2 separate regions of the Homo sapiens genome follow, and region 2 is linked to region 1. Evidence: promoter capture Hi-C in human tissues and cell types (Jung and others, 2019). All regions are on one chromosome and are shown on one strand. The core of a region is centred on a gene start or on the middle of the fragment in contact, and the rest is flanking DNA. Distances in the headings are between cores, read along the strand shown.

Region 1 (6,835 bases), core at 2,701-5,200:
AAACCAATCAACACCATCATGGGACTGGTGCTTACAACTGAGCCTGGCTTTCTAAGGCAGTCCCCACCCCTACCCACTATTGAAGGGTCAAAAGGGATTTCAAGTTGGTTCTCCTTAACACCGTCCTCTGAAATAATTCTTTCATCCATTCGCCCATTCGTGTGGTTGTTACTTCTAAGCACCTACTAAGTGCCAGGCATTGTTCTGAGGACTGGGGTTCCAGCCATGAAAACCGCAGATGAGGTCCTGCTGACATGAAGCTTATTGCTCCTGGGGCATAATCTCAGCACACTAATTATTAATATTATCAGATAAAACAACTCTTTATCTGAAGTCCTTGGGACTAGACGGTTTTGTTGGAAATTTTGGGAAAATAAAATGGGGCATATTGCTATTAATTTGCAAGCAGCCCAGTGAGGTCTGGGGAAATACCCAGTAACCAAATGCATTTGTATTCATTCAGTGAAGAGTATTCCTAGCAAGTGGAATAAATCAAGATTATGTCTTGTCATGTGAGGTCCAGTTTTACCACCACAGGAGTTTGAAAACCTCTGTTTTCAGAGCTGCTTTTTTTCTAGAAGAGCAGGCATTGAGTGCCAGGTAAGGGCCTGACCCATGCTAAGAGCATTCCTAGATATCGTGTTTCATTCTCAGTACTGCCCTGATTTTCAAGCTCATCTCATTTCATTCTCAATGCATTTCTGCAAGGTAGATCATGAAATTTCTGCTTGCTGCTGTTGTTGCTGTTGTTGTGTGTAAGAGGGTTCTGAAGTGCTGGCTGAGAGGCTAGACAAGGTGTGACAGCTGGAAAGTGGCAGGGCAGGGACTGGAACTCCAGATTCCACAGCTGGCACTCTTAACCACTAACCAACACCGACTTCCACTAGAGGAAAGACTGCAGAACAGGAAATAGCACTGTTTGGGCTGTGTCTATACAAGCAAAGGCAATTGGAGAGAAGCAGGTGATTATCCAGATAACTCAGAAAATAGCCATTAAAAAATAAAGGTTTGTGGTTGGGTAGCCAGTATTTCTAGACTGGCTGTATGTGTGGAGGAAATGCCCAGGTTAACGGCCCTTTTCTTCATAGAATAGGATCCTCTACACGAACTGCCTTGGACTCTGGGACACTGGGATGCTAGTTTCTCCATTCTTCGGGAGCGCCCTTTGGCAGCCCCTTTCATAGTCAGCTCATATCCTGCCACTTCTTGGAGCTGCTGCACGTAAGGTGGGTCCCGGAGATCCCTGCCCGCGGGGCGGGGCTGGAGTGTCTGCCTAGGAGGCACATGCTCTCCCGCAGCCAGGGAATCTCAGTCTGCGGCCACTGGGCAGAACGGCAAGGGAGAGGGGGAAGGGCGGAGGGACGCAGCCTGGGGGCGATTTGCCGGGCGGAGACGCTCTTTTTCAGACACCCTCCTCAGGTGGGCAGATCTCAGGTTAGATTCGAAGACTGTAAAATGCCCACAGGTCGGGAAGTGGTCAAGGTTTACAGAGGAGAAGGTTAGAGGAATGGAGACTCAGGAGGTAAAGGGGAGATGTCCCAAGGGGAGCTTTGAGAACCTTGGATTCCCTCTCCTTAAGGCCGCACACGCCCTGGGGGAAAGAAAGCAAGTTGGTGGGAGGCGGGAGGTGCTAAGCAGGAGCATCTGTCTCTGGCACTTGGTGGGAAGTTCACACTGCCATCTTTGCGCGCCAGGAAGGAGGCCAGGGCTGGGGAAGGGTCCAGTCGGCTAGGAAAATTAAGGAATGGGAAGGGGCTGTGGAGGGTGGAACGGCATCGCTGGAGCCTGGGCCTGCGCCCTCTGGGGTGTGGGGGTGGAGGTGGGGGAGGACTGGAGGAACAAAACAAAACAGCCACCACACCAAAACACCTAGGCCACGGATTTTTCGCCTTAAGGTCAAGTGCATGCCAATGGACGGAGAAAATTGAATAGTGTGTGTGTGTGTGTGTGTGTGTGTGTGTGCGCGCGTGTGTGTGTCTTCACCTTTGACAGCTGGAGAATGCAGACGGCGGAAAATAACTATTACGCTCCAGTGTGAGGCACTGTTTGTGGGGTGGGGCCCTCGGCGTGCTGGAGGTAGCGGACACAAATCCACCAACCCTGCCCCTCCGGAGTCCCCAAAACCACGGGCATCTGGAAGCGTCTAGAAATTCCGGTGCCCGGAACCCGGTTTTGCCAAACTTCGCAATCTCCTCACCTGAGGGCACCCGCCAAGATCTCCGTGGCAGGACCACGCATCGCGCCTCATGCTCTGGGCCGGAGCCAGATGAGCAATCATGCATCCCACTACCCAAGTCCCTACTACTCTGGGGACTTTGCAGGAGGTGAGCGCCTAACCCTATCCATCAGCCCCAGTGCTTAAGTATCCTCCCCCAGAGGTAAGAATGAGGAGGTCCCCCATGAGGTTCCATGTCAAGGCAGCAGTCTCCGTGGAGCCCCAGTGGGAGCGGTCTGGGATACGCGGGCGAGCCAAGGGGTCCAGGCGGGGAAGTTGGGGTTCAGCCTCCCGCCGGTCGGTGGCTCTGGAAGGAGCGCAGACAACCAGGCGGCAGGCAGGCAGCGGCTGCGGAGTGGACCTCTCTCTTTCAGCAGATGCCGCGGGGGATGGGGAACTTAGAGAAGGGGAGACAAGGAGAGTGTACCCCGCCTCCCGGCACCCCAGCCCGTAGTACGGCTTTAAAATCCTGCAGAGTTTGTCATAGGCCGGCCTCACCACGCATGCGCATAGCAAAGTTGAGTTTTTTCTTTCTTCCCCCCCCTTCCCTCTCTCTTTCCAGCCGCCCCTAGTTCTGAAACTTTAAAGAACTTTTTTCTTTCTTTCTTTCTTTCTTTTTTTTTTTTTCTTCCTTCTGAGAACACCAGGGGAAAGAGGAGTCTGGAGAGAGGGAGGGAGAGAGTAAGGCAGTTGGCCAGAAGGGCTGGGGGGTGGGAGGGGGGGACGCGTCCCCGCGGTCGGTCAGTCTGTTTGCGGGGCACAGGATCGCGTGGAAATCTGCTGCGAGCTCCACGGAGCCGCCTCCGCCGCCCAGAGCCGGGGTCCGTGCGGCAGCTGCCCAGCGAGCCCTTCCGCCGCCGCCGTTGTGCCCGGGACCGCCCGCCTCCCGCCGGCCCGCTCTCCCGCCCCTCGGACCCGGGCGCCAAACGAGGAGGTGGGCAGCTTCGCCGGCCATGGACCGCCGGAGCTGAGTCGCCGCCGCGGAGCTCCGAGCTCTCGCCCTTCCCCAGCCTCGCGCCCGCGGTGCACTCGCTGCTCTTCGCCCTTCGCCCTGGAAAAACGGGGAAAAGAGAGATCAACCCGAAGAGAGAAAGAACGGGATACGTGGTGGGGGGGGGGAGCCCGCGTCTCCCCTGGGTTAGTCGCACCCCTCCAGCTCACCGCACAGCAATAAGTTCCGGGGCGACTTTCACCTATTTTGCTCCCCGTTTTTGCCGAACCCTAAAATGAAAGGACACAATTTGGGGCTGACTCTTGCAGCTCAGATGGCGACTTGTGCGTTTTCAGCGGCATCTCCCGGAGAAAAAGCCATGCGCGCCTGATTGTTCTGTGGCCCCAAAGCTGCAGCGGGGGTGTGTGTGTTGGGGTGTGTGTCTGTGTGTGTACAGAGACGTCCACACTAACTCGCGGCTGCAGGATCAGCGTCTGGAAGCAGACGTTTCGGCTACAGACCCAGAGAGGAGGAGCTGGAGATCAGGAGGCGTGAGCCGCCAAGAGTTTGCAGAATCTGTGGTGTGAATGAACTGGGGGCACCTGGGCGCACAGATCGCCCCCCTTCCCCCGCCCCGGGCCACAGTTGAGTAGTGGTACATTTTTTTCACCCTCTTGTGAAGAATTTCTTTTTATTATTATTTGTCGTAAGGTCTTTTGCACAATCACGCCCACATTTGGGGTTGGAAAGCCCTAATTACCGCCGTCGCTGATGGACGTTGGAAACGGAGCGCCTCTCCGTGGAACAGTTGCCTGCGCGCCCTCGCCGGACCGGCGGCTCCCTAGTTGCGCCCCGACCAGGCCCTGCCCTTGCTGCCGGCTCGCGCGCGTCCGCGCCCCCTCCATTCCTGGGCGCATCCCAGCTCTGCCCCAACTCGGGAGTCCAGGCCCGGGCGCCAGTGCCCGCTTCAGCTCCGGTTCACTGCGCCCGCCGGACGCGCGCCGGAGGACTCCGCAGCCCTGCTCCTGACCGTCCCCCCAGGCTTAACCCGGTCGCTCCGCTCGGATTCCTCGGCTGCGCTCGCTCGGGTGGCGACTTCCTCCCCGCGCCCCCTCCCCCTCGCCATGAAGGTAGGTGTTCAGTGCGCTGCCACTTTTTTTCTTTACTTCCCCCCACCCCCTGTTGGAAGTTAACTGAGTTCCCTTCGCCTCTTCCTATCCCTCCATTTCCCCAACCGCCTGAAGAAGCTGGAACTCCAGCGTCGCTGGCAGGAACCCCTACCCCTTCGCCCTCCACGCCGGGCGCACTGCCTCAGTGTCCCAGGAGATCACTTCTGGTCGCACCACCCGTTCTGCAAACAATTTTGATTTTTGAGAAAAAGTGGGGAAGAGCGATAGTAGACAAACTGAGTGCGGTTCACTGACGACTTTCCTTTTGCTCTGAGAACATCGAGTGTAATTTACTATGTATATTTCAGTAACAGGATAATGATTCAATTCAACAAATATTTACCAAGCGCCCACTGCGCGGGCACCGGGACGGTGTGTGGCCGGGGCTCGGGATGGGGAAAGGGACTCCTTGGTTGAGAGAACCCGCAGAGGAACTAGGGGCCAACTACTCCAGAGCGGCGTACACCTTCCCCGACACCCCCCCGCACCGACGGAGGCCAGATTGTAGGCTTGCCTTGGCCGAGTAACTCGAGCGCTTCAGGCCCCTTTGCCTTTAAGAGTGCCTGGCGGGGGGCCAGCGCGCACCCCGGCGCGGGGAGCGGGGTCGCGTTATTAGCATTATTAGCCGCCACTGGGTGAGCTCAGGCACTTTGCAGCAGTGGTGGGGGCGGGGAGTTGTGGTGGTAGTGGCTGTAATCCCGTACTCCGGGACAGCGCTCCCCGGCCCCCTGAGCGGAGTCCGCCTTGTCCTTTAGAAAACACTTGGGCCTCCGCTTTGGGAGAGCAGGCGGGGGCCAGTTTGCGAACTCTTGTTTGTTTTAATTGTCAGTTGTATGTTAAAGCCGAATCACACACTCCGAGGGTCACTGAGAGTTCACTTTTACGAAAAGTTAACGTTTCTTCCTGCAACATAAGTTTTTATTTTCTAAACAATTTTTCTTATCTGTCCTCCAAGCTTCGATTCCTATTTCCATTTTTCTGGTCTTTCCCATTTTAAGTTTCTTAGAAAATAAGGTTAGAATTGAAATTAAGATGTTTCCTGGAAGCAAATAACCCCTCTTCCCCCCAAAAAGTTAAAAAAAACAACAACAAAAAACTTCAAGTCTGGAGACCCCACGGCCCTGTTTGACTTTCTAATCCCTGTCTGGTATCGAGGCCCCTTCTCCTCTCTCGCCTCTCTTTTCTCTCTTCTCTCTTTAAATGGGTAATTCGCTGTTTGGAAGTAACTTGGGCCTTGCGGTGAGGTCGCACCTCCTCAGCCCCTGCCCTCCCCCCAGCCACCTTCGCACATTCACTGCCGAACCAGCCAGATTTAGTTTCTAGACAGACTCTGCCAGGGGAGTTTCGAGGGGGCAATGCGGAGAGTGCGCAGCGAACCGCGGGCCGACAAATGTGTGTGTGTCCGAGTGTGTGGATCCTTGGCTGCGTGTGTGTGCGTGTGTGTTTGTGTGTGTAGGGGAGTTGTTCTCGGGTCCAGGACGTAGTAGCCTTCGTCTCCTCCACCCCCCGACCCTCTCAACGGAAGACCCTCCCCAGGAGGCCCGGCCCAAGAGTCCCCTGTCTTCTCCTCCCCTCCCCCGTGCGCTCCGGTGCTCAAGGGGTTAGCACTATGCGCGCAGAACTCGGAGCCATCCCCGCGGCCTTTTCTTCCCCGCGGTGCGGTGCCGGCTGCCCCCTGTTGGCCGCCTTGAGGTAGGACTCCTGCGAGCCTCGGTTCCTTGGGGCGGGCGGGCGGGCAGCTGCTCCCCTCTCCCTCCCACCCCTGCTCCCTTCATCCCTCCCGACCACCAGACCCCACTCTCCCAGCAGGGGCCCTCGGAGGCCCCCAGAGGACCAGTTTCGCTGCGCCGCCGGCCGCTGCAATACGGAAGGGGCCACGGGTCCAGCCCAGCAAATGGGACTCGGCCAGCTGGACACAGGGTTGGTACCTCTTCTTCTGGGCTTGGGAAGGAGAGTGTCGCCCTAGGAGGCCTCGGGTCTGGCCTCAGCTGCCTCCCAACTCTCTATGATCGAGAACAAGTGTTGCTTTCCCGCTTTTCGCCTCACTTTAATCGTCTATTAAAAAGTGGGAGAGAAACTACCTTTAAAGAGTGGGGGTTGGACTATCATTTCATTTTCTTCCTCTGTCCAAGGACTCTGCTCCACCTCTGGACAAAGTTGATCCTCTGCCGAGAGGGCTAGACATCCTATGTGAGAAGGTGTGAGTGGTGTGTGTGTGTGTGTGTGTGTGTGTGTGTGTGTGTGTGTGTGTGTGTATCCTGGGGCCTGGAAAGCCCAGTCTAAGGGATGGACGAGGGGGCAGGAAACAGAGGAGAACCAGGCCAGACCGTTCTTCCCCTGGGGCCTCTCTATACCCGAACCTGGAACCTGCTGTCAGTGTTGAGGCCTGGGCGGCTCTCTTTTGTCATACTGATTCTGGCTCAAGGTGTAACCTCCGCCTTCTCTATCTGGCAATTCCCTCCTCCCCTACCCCGCTCCGCGCGCGCCAACACACATATTGCTGTGGACACAACCCTTGCG
Region 2 (6,835 bases), core at 3,100-5,599, 150 kb before region 1:
TTATATAGCAGTATGGACACCCCAGATGTATGGAAGCCTCTTTCTCCCCTCCGATGGATTGTCATTGTATCAACTTTTGTCGCGTTCCTATCCATGAACCAATTACTATATGGCTAAGAAATAAGTTATTTTAATTGACTAGTCCTATGTCGTGTTCGCTCCCCACAGTCTGAGAATGAGAGAAGTGTGAGTCCCCAAAAGAAAAATCAAAGTACTGTTACAAAAATAAATTGTACTGAGTAATGAACAGGCAAAAAGAACGTCTCCTACAGGGCTTGTTGAAGACCTGCAGGGACTGTTGTGGAGTTGAAGGGCTAGAGGGGTAGCTGAGCTACACAGGACTCCATCTGGGGAGTGGAAAATCAGGATGTTTGTCTTCTACTTTCTCATATGGTCTTCTGTCCCCTCTCATTCAATGTTCTTTACCTTCCTCATGCCCTTACCACAGCCTCCGTGTTCCCACAACCTTATCATGGACTGGTTCAGTCTCTTGGAATCCCTCTTTCTCAATCTCTAGGGGAGGAAGCTCATTAATCCATCTCAGAACCAGGTCACCTGCTACATGGCACTGGCCAGCCTTATAGATGTATTTGCCTGAAGCAGGAGTCCTAACTTGGTACAGTCAACTCTGTACAAGTTAGGGCAGATCAAGCTGTCTGTGGGGTTTCTCTTTCCAGGGCTGTGCATAAGGTAGGATCGTTAGAAAGGTGTGGCAGAGAAGGCAATAATATATGTCAAGAACAGGCAAAAACTTGGGCAGAATCAGGCTACAAGGCCATTCTTGGAATGTGAGCCTTGTAGAAAAACCTGGAATCTCATTCCTTGACAAAGACAGATGGACCAAGAATGGGCTATCAAGGAAGCAGGAAGTCCAAGTTAGTTACCAAAGAGGATGACAGAAAATCAAGGCAAGGGTGTGGCTGCACTAACACAGCCACAGACTTCTCTGCGGGGGAGGTGAAGTGCAGCCACAGGACGTGTGAATTGTGGCATCTTTCAATATCATGCAGAGCAAGCTTCCCCAGGCAGCGCTCGTTAAGCTGCTCCCTCCGACATTGACATAGCTTTCCCTGGGGCTCCTGCCCTGTGTGGATCTGCCTCCTTCTTATTAGAGGCAACGGTGAGACTTTGAGTGTCGCACCACCTCTTCTCCCTCAGCCTTGGTCCAAGTGTGAAAACATCTGCTTCCTGCCCTTGATAAACTCATCGGCAACACAGGGGTTTAAGTTAATTTTATTAGAAATGAAAATTAAACATGTGTGCATGCACATGTGCGTGTGCCCACACGCACACATACCCCACAAAAACCAAAGTATCACACATTCAGGCAAGTAGATTGAATTAGGTTTGGTTGGGTTAAAAGCAAGAGACAGGTTTTCTAAATATAAGGATCGAAATCAGCCAAGGTATTTACACAGGAAATCTTTCCTGACTGACGTAGATTTAAGCAACAGAGCTTTCAGGCCAAGCTAGGATGTTAGATCTCCCCCAGTTATTCACTTGTTTGTTCATTGATTCAACAACTATTTCTGTGTCTATTTTGTGCCAGACAGTGTGTCCCAGACTCTTCTTCCTCTTTGTCTCCAGCCTATACTTTCTCTCCCTCCTGTAGGCTCCCCAGGCTTCTCTGTGGCTCATGTCCTGGTCCCCAGTCTCCTGATTGTGAATACATTGTCTTCGCTGGCCTCAGATATTCCTCCCCTGCAGTTCAGCACCTGGATTTCCAAGACGCATCACCACACCCTTGAGATAGTTCTCTCTCTGTCCATTTGGGGTTGGGACATGCTAGCACTACTTTCCCTGTGGATGAAGGTAGTGCTCTTCTCCTACCTGGTCTCCCTAGAAGTGGTGACACATTTTCATACTGTCTGAGTATCAGATTCTGGACACAGCCAAAGTCCTCTTTGACCCAGCCTACACACTTCTTTCAACTCTTTGTTTGAGAACTTCCTCCACCTCTATGCACATATGCAGAGTTAGATAGCTCACCGACCCTGAATCCAATGAGCAATTTGCCTGGTTTTGAAGCCATTTCTATAGGGTGTTCTCAACGCTCAGGTATTGTCAAGGGAGATGTCATAGGTAGTGCTTTTACCAGGTACCATTCATCTTATTGTCTTTGAAACCAAACCCTGTGCTGTCCACCATCTCCACTAAGATAAGATGGAGGTCATTCTGTGAAGGTTGTAGCTGTACCAATAATACTATTCTAATGTAGTTTGGTGAGTAGAAATAAAGAACAATGCGTAAAGTTTTCCTGATTTCCTTTTAGTTTTTAGAACAAAGTGGTAGTGATTAGCCAGCCCTATCCACCCTTAAGGAAGTCAATTTAAAACCTGGTAACCAGCCAACAACATAAAAGTATTTGAATGCTGTGTATTTATTAATTAATGTATTTACTTGGGGGATGGGCAAGGACTCTGGTTCCTGTTCTTATGGTGCCCTTTAGCAGAAAGACTACAGACTCTAACGTGACTCTTTGGGGAATCTCTCTGAAGTAGTAAGTCATTCATGGCCAACATTTTAATTGAAGGTAATAATAATTCCAATAATATTATTAAGAACCACCATTAGCTCAGGAAGGACTAAATTCACTGACGTAATGCCAAAGCTATGCACAACGATGACTGCTTTGCCGAGCCCCTCGGGGAATAACTTTCATAATCCATTGAAAAGTTATGAGCTCCTTGTGCTTGCACCAAGAAAGAACTCGACATTAACCATTTGAGAAGCCATGTAAAAATGGAGAAAAAGCTACTTGTGCTTTTAACAGCTTAATTAATGGCTGCAAATGGGGTTAATTCTCACAAAAACCCCATGGAGGAGGTTGGGATGTGTGTTGACAATGGAAAATTATCCTGATTTTATAGGTGAGGGCAGTTTCCAGACACTAGGAATGAACATGGTCAGGGGGAAAGAGAAAAGATGACTTTTTGTTGTGGGAGGAATGGGGCCCTGGGCCAGCGGGCTCACTGTCTGGTTTGGGACAAGGGAAATCATTGTGTGGGGAGAAATGAATGGAGTAAGAGGAATCTGGCTTAAGAGCCTAACAGAATTGGGTTCAATTATTGCTTTTGCCATTTGTTAGCTTTCTGACCTTGGGCTAAAAGTGTTAACCTTTCAGATCCTTAGTTTTATCATCAATAAAATGGGAAAAATAACAGTAGCTAACTTGAGTCAGAGGGGTCAGTGAGAAAATGCATGTCAAATTCTTAGCCCATGTAGATAGCTACTACTATCTAGTATTCACATTATTTTTCTTTATTAACAAATTCTACAAATATGTAATAAACACCTACAGTGTGCCAGTGACGATGCTCGATAGAGAGAGCAGGTTCTTTTGACTTGATTGTCTAGTAGGGAGTTAACAAAAAAAACTAAACATATCAATAAGTAAAATGCTTGCAAATTGTACTGCATTTGAAAGCTGGCTCCAGTGAGTACTCAATGCATTCAAGCTGCCATTTGCACCCAGGGGCAGAGACTTGGATTTTAGAGTTTGCAGTAACTTGGGTTTTAGAGTTGAGGAGACCCCGGTCAGCCCAGCCTGGATGCCAGTCTCTGCTCCCAGTCTGTGCCTTCACACAAGCCCCTCATGCCTTCTGAACTCCACTTCTCCCTCTGCACATGGGCCTGGTCCCTGGCAGTGCTTGGAACCTGATGAGTCCTCAGCAGGTAGAGATGCTACCTAAGCGCACTCCCACCCATCCTTTGAGCAGCTCTGGTTCATGCCTTTCCATATTCCACAGTGTGTTTCTGTACTCTCCAGGTGAAAGGGAGAATGAGAAGGAATTACATTTCTATTTTTCTGCCTAGACATAGATGAGAAAGTTTCTATCCCCAACTCTGAGGATTTGGACAAAGGAGTGCTATCATTGGTTTGAGAAAGAAAAGAAGGGGAGCATTCCAGGAGGACCTTTGTCCTGTCAGGGCCTCAGCCACAGGCCTGATCCCAGGAGGAACTGGGTGCAACAGGCTGTTATACTGGATGGGCCAGTCCCCAGGAGAGGGACAGGAAGACAGGAGTGAACGGGCACACCTGTGAGACCACAACAGGTCCTGGCAATGGTCGGGAAGTGTGTGACAGGGCACAGTGAATGATTGGAGAGAAGCTAGGAGGGACTGACTTCTCATGGCCTCCTAGCTTCCCTTGGAGTGATTTGGTCTAACACTAGGCTTATAAGTCATGACTGAGCACTTATTTTGCAAATCAGGTCTGGTTTGTCATTAGCAAGGTAGGCCTTTAGAACAGAGGTCTGCAAACCGTAGGGCTGCGGGCCAGATTCAGTGCCCTGCCTGTTTTTGTAAATAAAGTTTTGTTGGAGCACAGCCACACCTCTTCGTTTATTTTCTGTGGCTGGTTTCATGTCACAACACAGGTAAATAGTTGCGACAGAAACCATATTGCCTGCAAAGCTTAAGATATTTACTTGCTGGCTCCTTACAGGAAAAGTTTGCTGACCCCTGATTTAGTGTATTATAGTTTGGGTAGGAAGAGATTCAGTCATCGATGCACTCATTTGTTCATTGAACACATGTAATTATTGATCATCTAAGGTGCTCTATGCACTGTGCCAAGCCCACAAAGTGTCCCAGGTGCTGTGCTCAATCTTATAACAGCTGTGTGAGGCGATGATGTTATTACCCCATTTTGCAGGTGGGGAAATGGAGGCTGAGGGAACGTGAATGATTTCCCCAAGGTTACAACAGCAAGGAGCAGAACAAGGACTGGAACCAGGCTTGTTAGTCTCCAGACTCTGCACTGTCAGCCTTACTCTTTGACAGTGTGTTCCATGTTTGTCCTTATTCTGCCCTGTGAATATGGATTACTGTGAGAAAGGAAGAAAGATTAAAATGTTGAAAATACATTTTTATAAATCTCTGATGGAGGCTGGGTGCAGTGGCTCATGCCTGTAATCCCAGCACTTTGGGAGGCCGAGGTGGGCGGATCACCTGAGGTCAGGAGTTCAAGACCAGCCTTGCCAGTATGGTGAAACCCCGCCTCTACTAAAGATATAAAAATTAGCCGGGCATGGTGGCACAGTCCTGTAATCCCAGCTACTTGGGAGGCTGAGGCAGGAGAATAGCTTGAACCCAGAGGCGGAGGTTGCAGTGAGCCGATCACACCACTGTACTCCAGCCTAGGAGACAGAGAGACTCCATCTCAAAAAATAAAACAAAATAAAATAAAATAAAATAAAATAAAAATAAAAATTAAAAAATCTCTGATGGGAACGATTGCTATTTAAAGTGATGGATGAGTGAAGTTGCCACTTATTTGGGAGAGCCTCTGCTGGGTTGAGATGATTCTTCATTATGCGTGTTTCTAAACTTGAACTCTAGTTGCTTTAAATGATATCAGAAAATCATCTGAGGCTGGGCGCAGTGGCTCACACCTGTAATCCCAGCACTTTGGGAGGCCAAGACAGATGGATCACTTGAGGCCAAGAGTTCAAGACCAGCTTGGCCAACATGATAAAACCCCGTCTCTATTACAAATGCAAAAATTAGCCAGGAGTGGTGGCGGACGTCTATAGTCCCAGCTACTTGGGAGGCTGAGGTACAAGAATTGCTTGAACCTAGGAGGCAGAGGTTGCAGTGAGCTGAGATCGAGCCACTGCACTCCAGCCTGGGTGACAGAGCGAGACAAAGAGACAAAAAAAAAAGAAAGAAAAAAAATCATCTGAAAATGTTTTCCCTCATAATGATATGATTTCACCACTAATGTTTATAAACATTAAAATGACAGGAAGCATTTCCTGTTCCAACCTGACAGAGATCTTGGAGGATTTGTCTAAATATTCGCATACCTTTAAAATAATCAGCAGATGACTGTCTGGATAAGAGGTCAAAAAAAGGATTTGTAGAAAAAAGAAATAATAGGCCGGGCACGGTGGCTCACGCCTGTAATCCCAGCACTTTGGTAGGCTGAGGCAGGCAGGCAGATCACGAGGTCACGAGATCAAGACCATCCTGGCCAACAAGGTGAAACCCCGTCTCTACTAAAAATAAAAAATTAGCTGGGTGTGGTGGCATGCACCTGTAGTCCCAGCTACTCAAGAGGCTGAGGCAGGATAATTGCTTGAACCCAGTAGGCGGAGGTTGCAGTAAGCCGAGATCGTGCCACCATACTCCAGCCTGGCTAGAGAGTGAGACTCGTCAAAAAAAAAAAAGAAATAATAAAGTGAGACAGGTTTTCCCTTTGAGAACTCTGAAGTGCTATGGGAAAGGGAAGAGTTGCCCTCCTGCTTTAACAGGTTAAAAATGAACCACTATTAGTGAGCAAAAGTGAGATTGCGTTATCCTTTTAATGCTCATTCTAGACACAGCTTTTGCCAGCATCTCCATGTGATAAATGCAAACCAGAGTTTCTAATTGGAAATAGGAGAAGACCATCTTAGCCGAATGGACCACACTTCCTTCTAATGACTATGAAGATGGTTTAATCTTACAGTCTAAGTAGAGGTTCTACTGACAGGTTCTCGTATGAACTGATTAGGCTTCCCCCGTAGACATTTTTATCAGACTGATTCATTCCTCTGGAAGAATGCTGGCTTTTACGTTTTTTTAGAAGAGATTCTAAATGGCTTGTCAAGATTACATCTTTCATGTGAATCTCAGCCAGGATTATGTTACAGCCGGGACTGACAATATTCAATAGGTAGAATTTGGCCAAGATCGTAGAAATAGAGCAGGCTGGTCCCAATAAATAGTAGGAGCATGAATGTATGGTTTACATACATCCCAAGTAGCTTCAAGGCAGTCTGTGCATTGGATATCCTGGGGGAATGCATGGATACATAAAGTGTAATATTCAAGGAAAATAAACTCAACT

The links. Contacts are between HindIII fragments. The study calls those that stand out against the background at their distance.
Region 2: a fragment that was not itself captured here is called in contact with the fragment with the promoter of WNT5A in region 1 in 1 of the 25 tissues and cell types used here (IMR-90 fibroblasts).

Annotation. Positions count from the first base shown.
Region 1 is chr3:55,484,421-55,491,255 of GRCh38, reverse strand. It overlaps WNT5A (Wnt family member 5A), which reads left to right and starts at 3,950. Exons shown (of 5, transcript NM_003392.7): 1 at 3,950-4,276. The coding sequence starts at 4,271. WNT5A-AS1 (WNT5A antisense RNA 1) reads right to left here and starts at 3,638. Exons shown (of 2, transcript NR_046656.1): 1 at 3,377-3,638; 2 at 2,948-3,266. RefSeq lists enhancers at 1-741, 1,304-1,815, 1,816-2,326. The HindIII fragment of the contact is 9,126 bases long and covers 1-6,759 here.
Region 2 is chr3:55,634,230-55,641,064 of GRCh38, reverse strand. The region is part of intron 17 of ERC2 (ELKS/RAB6-interacting/CAST family member 2); the gene reads left to right. Among named protein-coding and RNA genes, the nearest start is that of ERC2-IT1, 22 kb to the left of the region's middle. The HindIII fragment of the contact is 3,265 bases long and covers 2,717-5,981 here.